2 separate regions of the Homo sapiens genome follow, and region 2 is linked to region 1. Evidence: promoter capture Hi-C in 16 types of primary human blood cells and fetal thymus (Javierre and others, 2016). All regions are on one chromosome and are shown on one strand. Each heading gives the region's core, a stretch centred on a gene start or on the middle of the fragment in contact. The rest is flanking DNA. Distances are from core to core; before and after follow the strand shown. Region 1 holds the start of LARRPM (LINC00240 antisense RNA regulating promoter methylation). Region 2 has its middle 21 kb from the start of ABT1.

The links. Contacts are between HindIII fragments. The CHiCAGO score rates a contact against its expected background, and 5 or more counts as called.
Region 2: a contact is called between a fragment that was not itself captured here and the fragment with the promoter of LARRPM in region 1, in 2 of 17 cell types (M2 macrophages and megakaryocytes). The highest score is 5.2, in M2 macrophages.

Annotation. Positions count from the first base shown.
Region 1 is chr6:27,018,527-27,023,452 of GRCh38, forward strand. LARRPM (LINC00240 antisense RNA regulating promoter methylation) reads right to left here and starts at 1,780. Exons shown (of 1, transcript NR_026776.1): 1 at 840-1,780. LINC00240 (long intergenic non-protein coding RNA 240) reads left to right here. Exons shown (of 3, transcript NR_026775.2): 3 at 4,728-4,926. It overlaps TRI-TAT2-2 (tRNA-Ile (anticodon TAT) 2-2), which reads left to right and starts at 1,820; the gene lies at 1,820-1,913. RefSeq lists an enhancer at 1,525-1,784. The HindIII fragment of the contact is 5,623 bases long and covers 1-3,905 here.
Region 2 is chr6:26,614,851-26,620,158 of GRCh38, forward strand. No RefSeq gene overlaps it. Among named protein-coding and RNA genes, the nearest start is that of ABT1, 21 kb to the left of the region's middle. The HindIII fragment of the contact is 9,729 bases long and covers 1-5,308 here.

The sequences.
Region 1 (4,926 bases), core at 530-3,029:
AGAAACTCAAAAGTAAGACCTGGCAGCCCCCTCCCTGCTTTGTCCCCGCCTTTCTGGATGGAACCAATGTACTTCTTACATATATTGACTGATGTCTCATGTGTCCCTAAAATGTATAAAACTAAGCTGTGCCCCGATTACCTTGGGCACAGGTAGTCAGAACTCCCTGAGGCTGTGTCACAGGGGTGTGTCCTCAACCTTCGCAAAATAAACTTTCTAAATTAACTGAAACGTGTCTCAAATTTTCGGTGTTCACATCCGCAAAGGAAATGAAATCAGGATCTCGAAGCAATAACTGCATGCCCATCTTCATTGAAACATTATTCACAATAACTAAGATATGGAATCGACCTAAGTGGCTGTCCACCAATGAATGGATAAAGCACATATAGTTTATACACACAATAGAATATTATTCATCCTTAATAAAGAAGATCCTGCTGTTTGCAACATGGATGAACCTCGATGTCATTATGCTAAGTGAAACAAGCCAGACACAGCAAGAAAAATACTGCATGATCTCTTATGTGGATTCTAAAAAAGTCAAATACATAGAAGCAGAGTAGAACAGTGGTTACCAGGGGTGGAGACGTATGGAAATGGTTAAGATGTTGGTCAAAGGATACAAAGTTGCAGTTCTATAGGATGAATAAGTCTAGAGATGTAATGCATAGCATAACTATAGTTAATACTGCATTGTGCATTGGAAACTTGCGGAGAGTACATTTCATGCGCTCTCACCACTTACACAAAATAGTAACTGTGAAGAGATGTATTATGTTAATTAGCTTGACTGTAGAAATCATTTCACTGTGTACATGTATCAAAACATCATGTTGTACACCTTAAATATATAGTTTTTATTTTTAAAACACTGTTTGGGATTAAAAGCCCAGCTAATTCTGCCTTAATATCTCATTCTTATCCACAATGTCCACCCATAAGAAAGACGCCCGATACTCCGTGTAAACACACACTCCCCATCTCCCATACAAATTTACCTTCTAGAGAGAGCCCTTTTCCCCAAACTCTCCTCTCAAAACACTCTGAAGCACAAGGTCTTTAGCCTAGTTAGACATTTTCTGAAAAACTTAGTTTAACTCAGCGTAGAGACACCATGAATTTCAGAGACCCAGTCCTGGGCCTGCTTCAGTTGCTTTAGCCTAGAGTTTCAACTCCCAGGTCCCGGGGAGGGATGCTCCAAGGAAGAAATAGAGGCCCTATTCCAGGGCTGTTTCTCGCAGACTAGCCACAGAAAATGCAGCCCAGCGCCACTTCCTTTCAGTAGCAACACGTTTCCAACACGTTTGTTAAGCGGGAACGGAAGTGAGCGGAAAGGAATGCGTTTGGTAAATCCCACTTTAAGGATTTCGTAATCCTCCCAGGGATTCCCACCACCCGCACTCCACTCGCAGACTGCGGGCCTTCCTCCGACGCTGGGAGAAGGACCCTGGGAGAGGCAAGGGAAGGGCTCCGGAACCAGCGCAGCAGCGGGACGCTAGCCCGCCCACACGGCGGCCACTTGAAGGTCCTCCAGGGAACACCTGAGGCAGTGGGAGCGTCTGCCCTTTCCTAAGTCTCCTTGGAAAGAAGTATTCGCTTTCGTTTCCGCAAACAAAGCATGCTCCGCGCTTTCAGGACCGGTGGCTCCCGTGGAGACCGCAGCGGAACCCAGTCCGCCTTCGCACGCGTCCGGGGGAGAAGCGGCCCCAGGACTAAGGGCGCGCGCCCGAGGAACCGGTGCTGTGACGACCAGAGCAAACACGCCGGATGTTCCTGTGTAGGCTGTGTAAGGAGTGACCGGAAGTAGAAACTGGGTGCTCCAGTGGCGCAATCGGTTAGCGCGCGGTACTTATATGGCAGTATGTGTGCGAGTGATGCCGAGGTTGTGAGTTCGAGCCTCACCTGGAGCATTGTTTTCCAACCCAAAATAGCATTACTTGAAGTGCCTTTCCCCCTGTAATCCGACTCCATCGTCTTTAACGTGTTTGGAATTGTGTACACAGTTTATTGTTATTGGTTTCCTTAGCCTTTTTAGAACCAAGCAACGCCAATTACCAACAAAATCCGTTGCGCCGCAGTGAGTTAGCTACCTTCTATCTCCACTTTGTTCTGCACGTCGATCTCAGGTAAAGAACATCATCTCTTTACATCCTTCTTTCCACTTTGTTCTTAGGATCATCGATCATCGTTCCTCGGGGAGCCCCTGGCACATACTTAGTGCTAAGAAACTCCCATCAGGTGATAAGCATTGAACTCCATTTAAGGAAACTCAAAAGTGGGAAATAGTAAAAGGTTCCTGTCTGATTAAAGCTCTGATTGGGAGGGGTGTGGGGGGACTGATTTCTGACAACAGTGTCCCCTCCAGTATTTTTCCCCCACTTAATTTTACCCTGATAAAAATCAACAGTCATGGAAGATCTAGCAGCTTCTATCAACTGAGAAACAGCACCTGGTGTCCTCAGGCATTCAATTACCTGGACTTGGAAAAGGATGAGTGATAATAGACCCAGAAACCTGAAATCTTTAGAACAGCATTACAAGAATAAGCATATTGTTGTGGCTGAGGTGGGTAGGAAGTAGATAGGGATTTTGACTTTAAAATAGGCTTCCTCTCCCTATGACACCTGCAGTTTGCCTGGACATAGCTTTTATCATATGCTTCCCAACTCTTCAGCAAGAGAGGGAATTGAACTGAGTAATTGGGAGTTGTTTTCCTAGCTATAAAGATTGCCACAAATCTGAAAGCACATGTGTCCCACTTGGGACACGGAGGTGAGTGGAATTAAGCTGAGCACAGATAACTCTCTCTTGAGATCTGTATTCCTAAATGGGTCTTGCATGTATCTGGACATTGTCCACTCACAGACTCTCTCCTGAGAAAGGTTAGCGAGGTCCCGTTCAGGAATGCACCAGATGATAATAAAGTGAACACCTTCTCACTTTGTAGCTCTTGCTAAGCCACTGGAGTACCTTAAAAGCTATCAAAGCATAATCTTCAAATATATATATAGTAACTAATCACCAAATATTTATTTAAGTCACTAATGAGAAAAGGAGGAGTATGGTAAACTGATTGCAATGGCAATAGAAAAGGCTGGTAAAGGTATAGTCAGTGGGGGAAAAATAATGCTGACATGAGATTGCAAGTTTAAGTAAAAAACTAGCTAATGTCCTATGAGGCAGTGAAAACTATGGCCTTTGGGATTATTTTTATCTAAAAGACAGAAACTAGTTGCATCTTTACTGGGTAAAAATCATTCAAAACTTAATATTCTACATAATGACATTTAACCTTGTAATCTATTTTCTAATCATTAGTAAATAGTGACCTCCAAAAGTTCCATTAACTTAGAGGATTACTTGCCCCTTCAGTGGGCTTGTTAGACAATGCTCTAGTATTATTTTGAAAGAGTACTAATATCTTTTTTTTTTGCCTTATATTAACTTTTGGATATTTTTTCTGAATAGATTTAGCACCTTAATTCAATTATTTTATCTCTGTTCCTGATCAGTTGAAGGTATTATTGAGTGTCTTCAGACAGTGTTTAAAAAATGGTGACCTTTGCCATAAAGAATTTTTGTGAACTGGCTTAAGCCAGTTTTGTGATACACAACTTTGGGTGCTTTTGGTAGATGTCTGTAGGCAGCTTACTTTATAGTACTTTATACTATACCTTACTTTATAGTATAAAGTAAGGGATAGTTAGCTACAACATACCAACGAGTTATAGTGATAGAAGATCTTCAACAAAATTTTGTACATATATAGTCATTTATTAGAAAGCAAGCAAAAAACAGTCATAAAACCTGTTCTCTAAGCTCAATGAAGTTCCCACGGTTTTGTCATTTGTTTTTGTTGTTGTCATTGTTGTTTTACTAACTTCAAAACTACCTTTCATGAAAGCTTTGCTTGAGGCAAATGCAACAATATTTCAGAGTGAGGATTCAGCCAAACATCTCTAAGAAGAAAACCTCTGGACACAGCAGGACACAGAAATACTGAAATCTCCAGCCTAGGGCACCATCCCTCAAGTTAAAGGCTAGAACTCATTTAATTTTTATTCCCTTTGAACAGTGTCTCTTAAATATTTAATTCATTTTGGGAACCGCTAATTTACCCAGGGAGACTATATTTCTAATATTTTTTTCCCTTCACACCATGGGATCTTTGTTTCTAATATATTAATTAACTAATTAACAAGGACAAATTTCATCAAAGAAAACCAGTATCCAATATTCCATTATACTAATTATGGCAGCCTCTGGTGTTTATCAAAAATAAAGAAAACTGAAGTACTTTTGGTGGCCACTTCAGCAGTGTGGTTTTATTATGTTAAATGACAATCCTCCAGATTGTGATATCAGGGCAAGGGACTGACTCTAGAATCATTTAAAATCATTTTAATATACACATTCGTATTATACAGCACAGTTGATTAAATTATTGCTCCTTCTCTATATCCACACCCTTTTTGTGGGTGGAGAGTTTGTCTTCACTTGTGGTAGACTGGATTCCTGAAAATGACTGAAACAGTATCCCTCGTTCCCTTCTGCAATGTGAGCTTGGCACCTCCTCAGCTAGAAGTAGAGTCTGTTTCCCTTCACCTTGAATTTGGTTTGGGTTTGTAACTACTGTGAGCAATGGAATGCAGTAAAAATAACATTTTGTGATTTCTCAGCCCAGGCAGTAAGAAAACATATCAGCTTCCACTTTTACCTTTAAGGAGAAGCCAGCTCCCATGTTAAGAAGTTCAAATACCTAGAGACTGCGATGGTTTGCAGAGGCTCAAGCTAACCACATGGAAAGACATGGAGAGATATTCCTTGCCAACCCTCAACTACTCCAACTATTCTAAGACATCAAACCTGTGAGTGAAAAAGCCATCTCATACCTTACAACTCTAGCAGATGCCACATAGTGTA
Region 2 (5,308 bases), core at 1,844-4,343, 400 kb before region 1:
TCACCTATGACAACTTCAGATTGTGCACCAAGGATGGGAGGGAAGTTATCGGGAAAGGACAAGATTATATTTAGAATTCACTGGGGAGGTGGTGATTTCTGAAGACAGACCATGGGATCTTGGTCCTGTGCTTCTCAGGAGTCAGATGTGGAGCTGCTTTTGCCCTTGCTCTCGCACTGATCTCCCATAGGATCTGCATCTCCAGCCTCTCCAAACTCCAACTCATCCTACGCGGGACATCAAACCCACCTTTATACTGCCCAACGATAAAAAAATTGTTATTTCAAGGGCTCCTCAACCTTTGGATACAAAATGAGTTATCAGTAAAGCTAATTGGGATATTCCCAACTCACAGACCCCAGGGAGCAGCAGGGGGTGAGGAAGGATTTAGCAGCAGGACATCAACACCGGGGCGAGCAGTGCAGGCCTGATGGAGATGTGGCAGGGAGACACCTCAGTGCTGGAAGTCTGGATAAGGCACCAAGACCTCAGCACAGATCTGGGGTGTGTTCACAGTGGGCTTCTTTATTAGAGTGGAGAGTGGAAAATGGAAACAATGGAAATATCCAAAAAAAAATTGGAGTGTTTAATTAATATAAAGATAATTTAGATAAAGTCATGTGATGGGAAAACAGACAAGACAGACTGTGTGTGTGAGTGTTCTGTATCTTGTCCCTGATACACAGTATATTATGTAAATCATACTTCTATTTATATTTTAAAATGGCTATTGATATATAGATAGAGATGTGTTTACAAAGGCATAAAAGAACAATTGAAAGGATATAGATTGAACTGTAATAAAGTGATTAACTCTGGTTTGGGACTGGATTGGGAGGAATGGCAATGTTATAGTGGTATATTGTTCCAAATTTTCTACTTGTATTATATCTTTCCAGTAACAAAACAGTGAACATAATTATAATTTTATTTATTTATTTATTTTTGAGACAGAGTTTTGTTTTTGTTGCCCAGGCTGGAGTGCAATGGCGCGATCTCGGCTCACCACAACCTCTGCCTCCTGGGTTCAAGCGATTCTCCTGCCTCAGCCTCCCGAGTAGCTGGGATTACAGGCATGTGCCACCATGCCTAGCTAATTTTGTATTTTTAGTAGAGACAGGGTTTCACCATGTTGGTCAGGCTGGTTTTGAACTCCCAACCTCAGGTGATCCACCCTCCTCGGCCTCCCAAAGTGCTGGGATTACAGGTGTGAGCCACCACGCCCAGCCATAATTTTAATTTTAAAGGCAAAGAAAAAAAGAGTTCATTTTGGCAACTTGGAAGAATGGATTGGAAACCAAGAGTTTGGAGGCTGAGATGTGAAACAGTTCATTGGAAGAGTCAACATTATCCTGATATCAAGATCAAATAAAGACAGTACAGGAAAAGAAAAACTACTACTATCCTTCATAAATATAGACACAAAAATTCCCAGCAAAATAATAGGAATTTGAATCTGGCAATATATATTTAGAAATACAATTAGGAAAAAGGTAAGGATGTCCCTCTCATCACTCCTTTTCAGCATTTTACTGGAAGTTCTAGCTAATGCAATAAGACAAGAAAAGAAAATATAAGGTATACAGATTGGAAAGGAAGAAATAAAAACTGTCTTTGTTCACAGTATTGTCTATGTAGAAAATCTGAAAGAACTGAAAAAAATTCTTGGAACTAATAAGTGATTATAGCAATGTTGCAGGATATAAGGTTAATATACAAAAGTGAAATGTTTTCTATATACCAACAAAAAACAAGTTGAATTTGAAATTAAAAACACAATACCATTTACACCCACCCAAAATGAACATTAAATGCATACCACTAAGTGAAAAAGGCCAATTTGAAAAGGCTACATCCTGTATGATTCCAAATAATGTATATGACATTCTGGAAAAGGCAAAACTATATGAAGACAATGTAAGAACCAGTGGTTTCTAGGAGTTAAGAGTAAGGGAGGGTAGTAGGGAGGGATGAATAGACAAAGTACAGAGGATTTTAGGGAAAAACTGTTCTATATGATACTATTATGGTGGATACATGTCATTATACATTTGTCAAAGTCCATGGAATGTACAATACCAAGAGTGAACTTTAATGTAAACTATAGACTTTGAGTGATAGTGATGTGTCAGTGTAGGCTCACCAATTTTAACAAATGTACCACTCTGGTACAGGATGTTGATAGTGGAGGAGGTTCTGCATAGTGGAGGAGGTAGCAGGTATGTCGGAATTCTCTGTACTTTCTGCTCAATTTTGCTGTAAACCTAAAACTTCTCTAAAAAATAAATCTATTTAAAAACGCACCACTGGTAAATGGGGTTAATCCCTTAAGTGCAAGGCTGTTTGAATATTTGAAAATCAATCAATATTCTCTACTACATTAACAGATTAAAAAAGAAAATCACATTATCATATCAATGAATGTGAAAAAGCATTTGACAAAAATCAACCACCATTCATGATTAAAACTTTCAGCAAACTAGGAGGAGTTTGCTGTTCCTAGCAACTATTTTTGACCTAATAAATGACATCTACAAATTATGTATATTAGACAGCATATTTAATGGCAAAAGACTGAATGCTTTTCCTGAAGTTCAGGTACAAGTTAAAGATGCCCACTATCATCACTCTTATTCAATGTCTTACTGATATTTTTGACAGTGTAATAAGGCAAGAAATTGGCATAAAAAGTGGAAAGGAAGCAATAAAAAATGTTCCCATTCACAGATGACATTTCTGTCTACATAGAAAATCCAAGGAAATCTATAAAAAGTTCTTAGCACTGGCTGGGCATGGTGGCTCATGCCTATAATCCCAGGACTTTGGGAGGCCCAGGCAGGCTGATCACCTGAGGTCAGGAGTTCAAGACCAGCCTGACCAACATAGAGAAACCCTGTCTCTACTAAAAATACAAAATTAGCCGGGCTTGGTGGTGCATGCCTGTAATCCCAGCTACTCGGGATGCTGTGGCAGGAGAATCGCTTGAACCTGGGAGGCAGAGGCTGCAGTGAGCTGAGATTGCACCATTGCACTCCAGCCTGGGCAACATGAGTGAAACTCCATCTCAAAAAAATAAAAAATAAAAGATTCTTAGCACCAATAAGTAATGAGTTTGCAGAATACAAATTCATCATAAAAAAATCAATACTATATATACTATCATTGAATAATTGGAAACTAAAATTTTAAAACATACTGTGTACAGAAGCTCCAAAATATTAAATTACTTAGATATAAATCTAATAAACATGTGCAGAGTCTGTATATTAAAATTTACAAAGTGTTATAGACCTAAATCAAAGAACAGATAAATTAATGGAGGGATATACCATGTTCATAGATTGGAAGACTAAACACAGTTTAGATGTTAGTTCTCACAATCTGATCTATGAATGTAACCCAATTTAAATTAAAACCCATCATTATTTTGTTTGTATATGTATACAAGATGATTCTGAAATTCATATGGAAAGGCAAAGAATCAGAATGGCCAAAACAATTTTGAAAAAGAACACAATTGGAGATCTCAAACTAGCTATTATAAAAATTATTATAAAGAAACAGTCATTAAAAGTTTGGCAGCTGGGCTCGGTGGCTCACGCCTGTAATCCCAGAACTTTGGGAGGCCAAGATGGGCGGATCACGAGGTCAGGAGTTCGAGACCAGCCTGACCAACATGGTGAAACCCGGTATCTACTAAAAATACAAAAATTAGCCTGGTGTGGTGGCACATGCCTGTAATCCCAGCTACTCAGGAGGCTGAGGCAGGAGAATGGCTTCAACCCGGGAGGCAGAAGTTGCAGTGAGCCAAGTTCATGCCACTGCACTCCAGCCTGGTCAAGGGAGCAAGATTCCATTCCCCTCCACCCCCCACCCAAAAAAAAAGTTTGGTATTAGTGAAAAGATAGACTCACAAACCAGTGAAATAGAACAGAGAGTCCAGAAATAGACACATACAAATATACATAGTTGATTTTTTTTCCTTGAAAATTATACTACTTTATTTGGAGTAGAGACAGAGGAAAGAGTTTGGAATGATATTATCAAAAATATGTGTGTGGTATCTAGAGCAAGGCCATTTACTATGTATAATGGAAATGAATAAGAAAACAACTGTGAACTCATACAAAATCAATAATTTTAATCATAACATCATAGCTAAAAATATTAAGAGATTTAAGAATAATTCACTTATTCTTTTAGTGTCAAAAACTCAAGGGACTCCATCATCTCCTCATTTTCTTTAAAAAATCTGTCTGCATATTAATGTTCTAATCATGTCAATATAGAATGAAGAAAATATTTAAAATTGACAGACTGACATTATAGGAAAGGATGCTTTCAGCCGGGCGCAGTGGCTCATGCCTGTAATCCCAGCACTTTGGGAGGCTGAGGTGGGCGGATCACGAGGTCAGGAGTTTGAGACCAGCCTGACCAATATGGTGACACCCCCGTCTCTACTAAAAATACAAAAATTAGCCAGGCGTGGTGGCGTGCGCCTGTAGTCCCAGCTACTCAGGAGACTGAGTCAGAAGGATCGCTTGAACTTGGGAGGCAGAGGTTGCAGTGAGCCAAGATCACGCCATTGCACTCCAGCCTGGGTGACAGAGCAAAACTCGTGTCTCAAAAAAAAAAAAAAAAAAAAAAGGATGCTTTCAAAATTATACACGTTGTGCAGAGATTTAATGCTCAGTTCAAAGATGAACAACAGAGAGCATGTACCTGGCCTTATTTCTCCTGGTTTTCAAGGAATCATGATCTTTGATAGGTTTCTTGAGAAATGCCACAAAAAAGAACAACAAAAACGTTCTGGAATTTTCTATTCTTTAAAAAAGAAAATGGACCAAAAAATAATAAAGTATAACTTTTTGCCATAGAAAAGATAACAAGCAAAGAACTACAAAGTCAAACACAGATTCAGAAGACACTTGCTCATGAGCAGCTTTGTCTTTTTTAGCCGAATCTACAGCCATAATTCCTGATTCAGATATGTATTTTTATTGAAGATTACTTTTTTTTTTTTAACATACTAACTGAATCACAGGCCGTTTACAGTTAAAGAAGTAGCAGTGGGTAAACAGATGTCACTGGAAAACAGTACAGATCACAAACAGTTCAGGGATGAAACTCTGAATGTAGCATCTTCAGTGAAACTTGAAAAGGCCTTTTTGAACACACACTGTTACGTGAGTGTGGGCAATTGATTTTTGATAAAGGTGCAAAGGAATTCAACGGAGAAAAAATAAAGTATTTTGTTGTTGTTGTTGTTTGTTTTTTTGAGACAGGGTCACATTCTGTCATTCAGCCT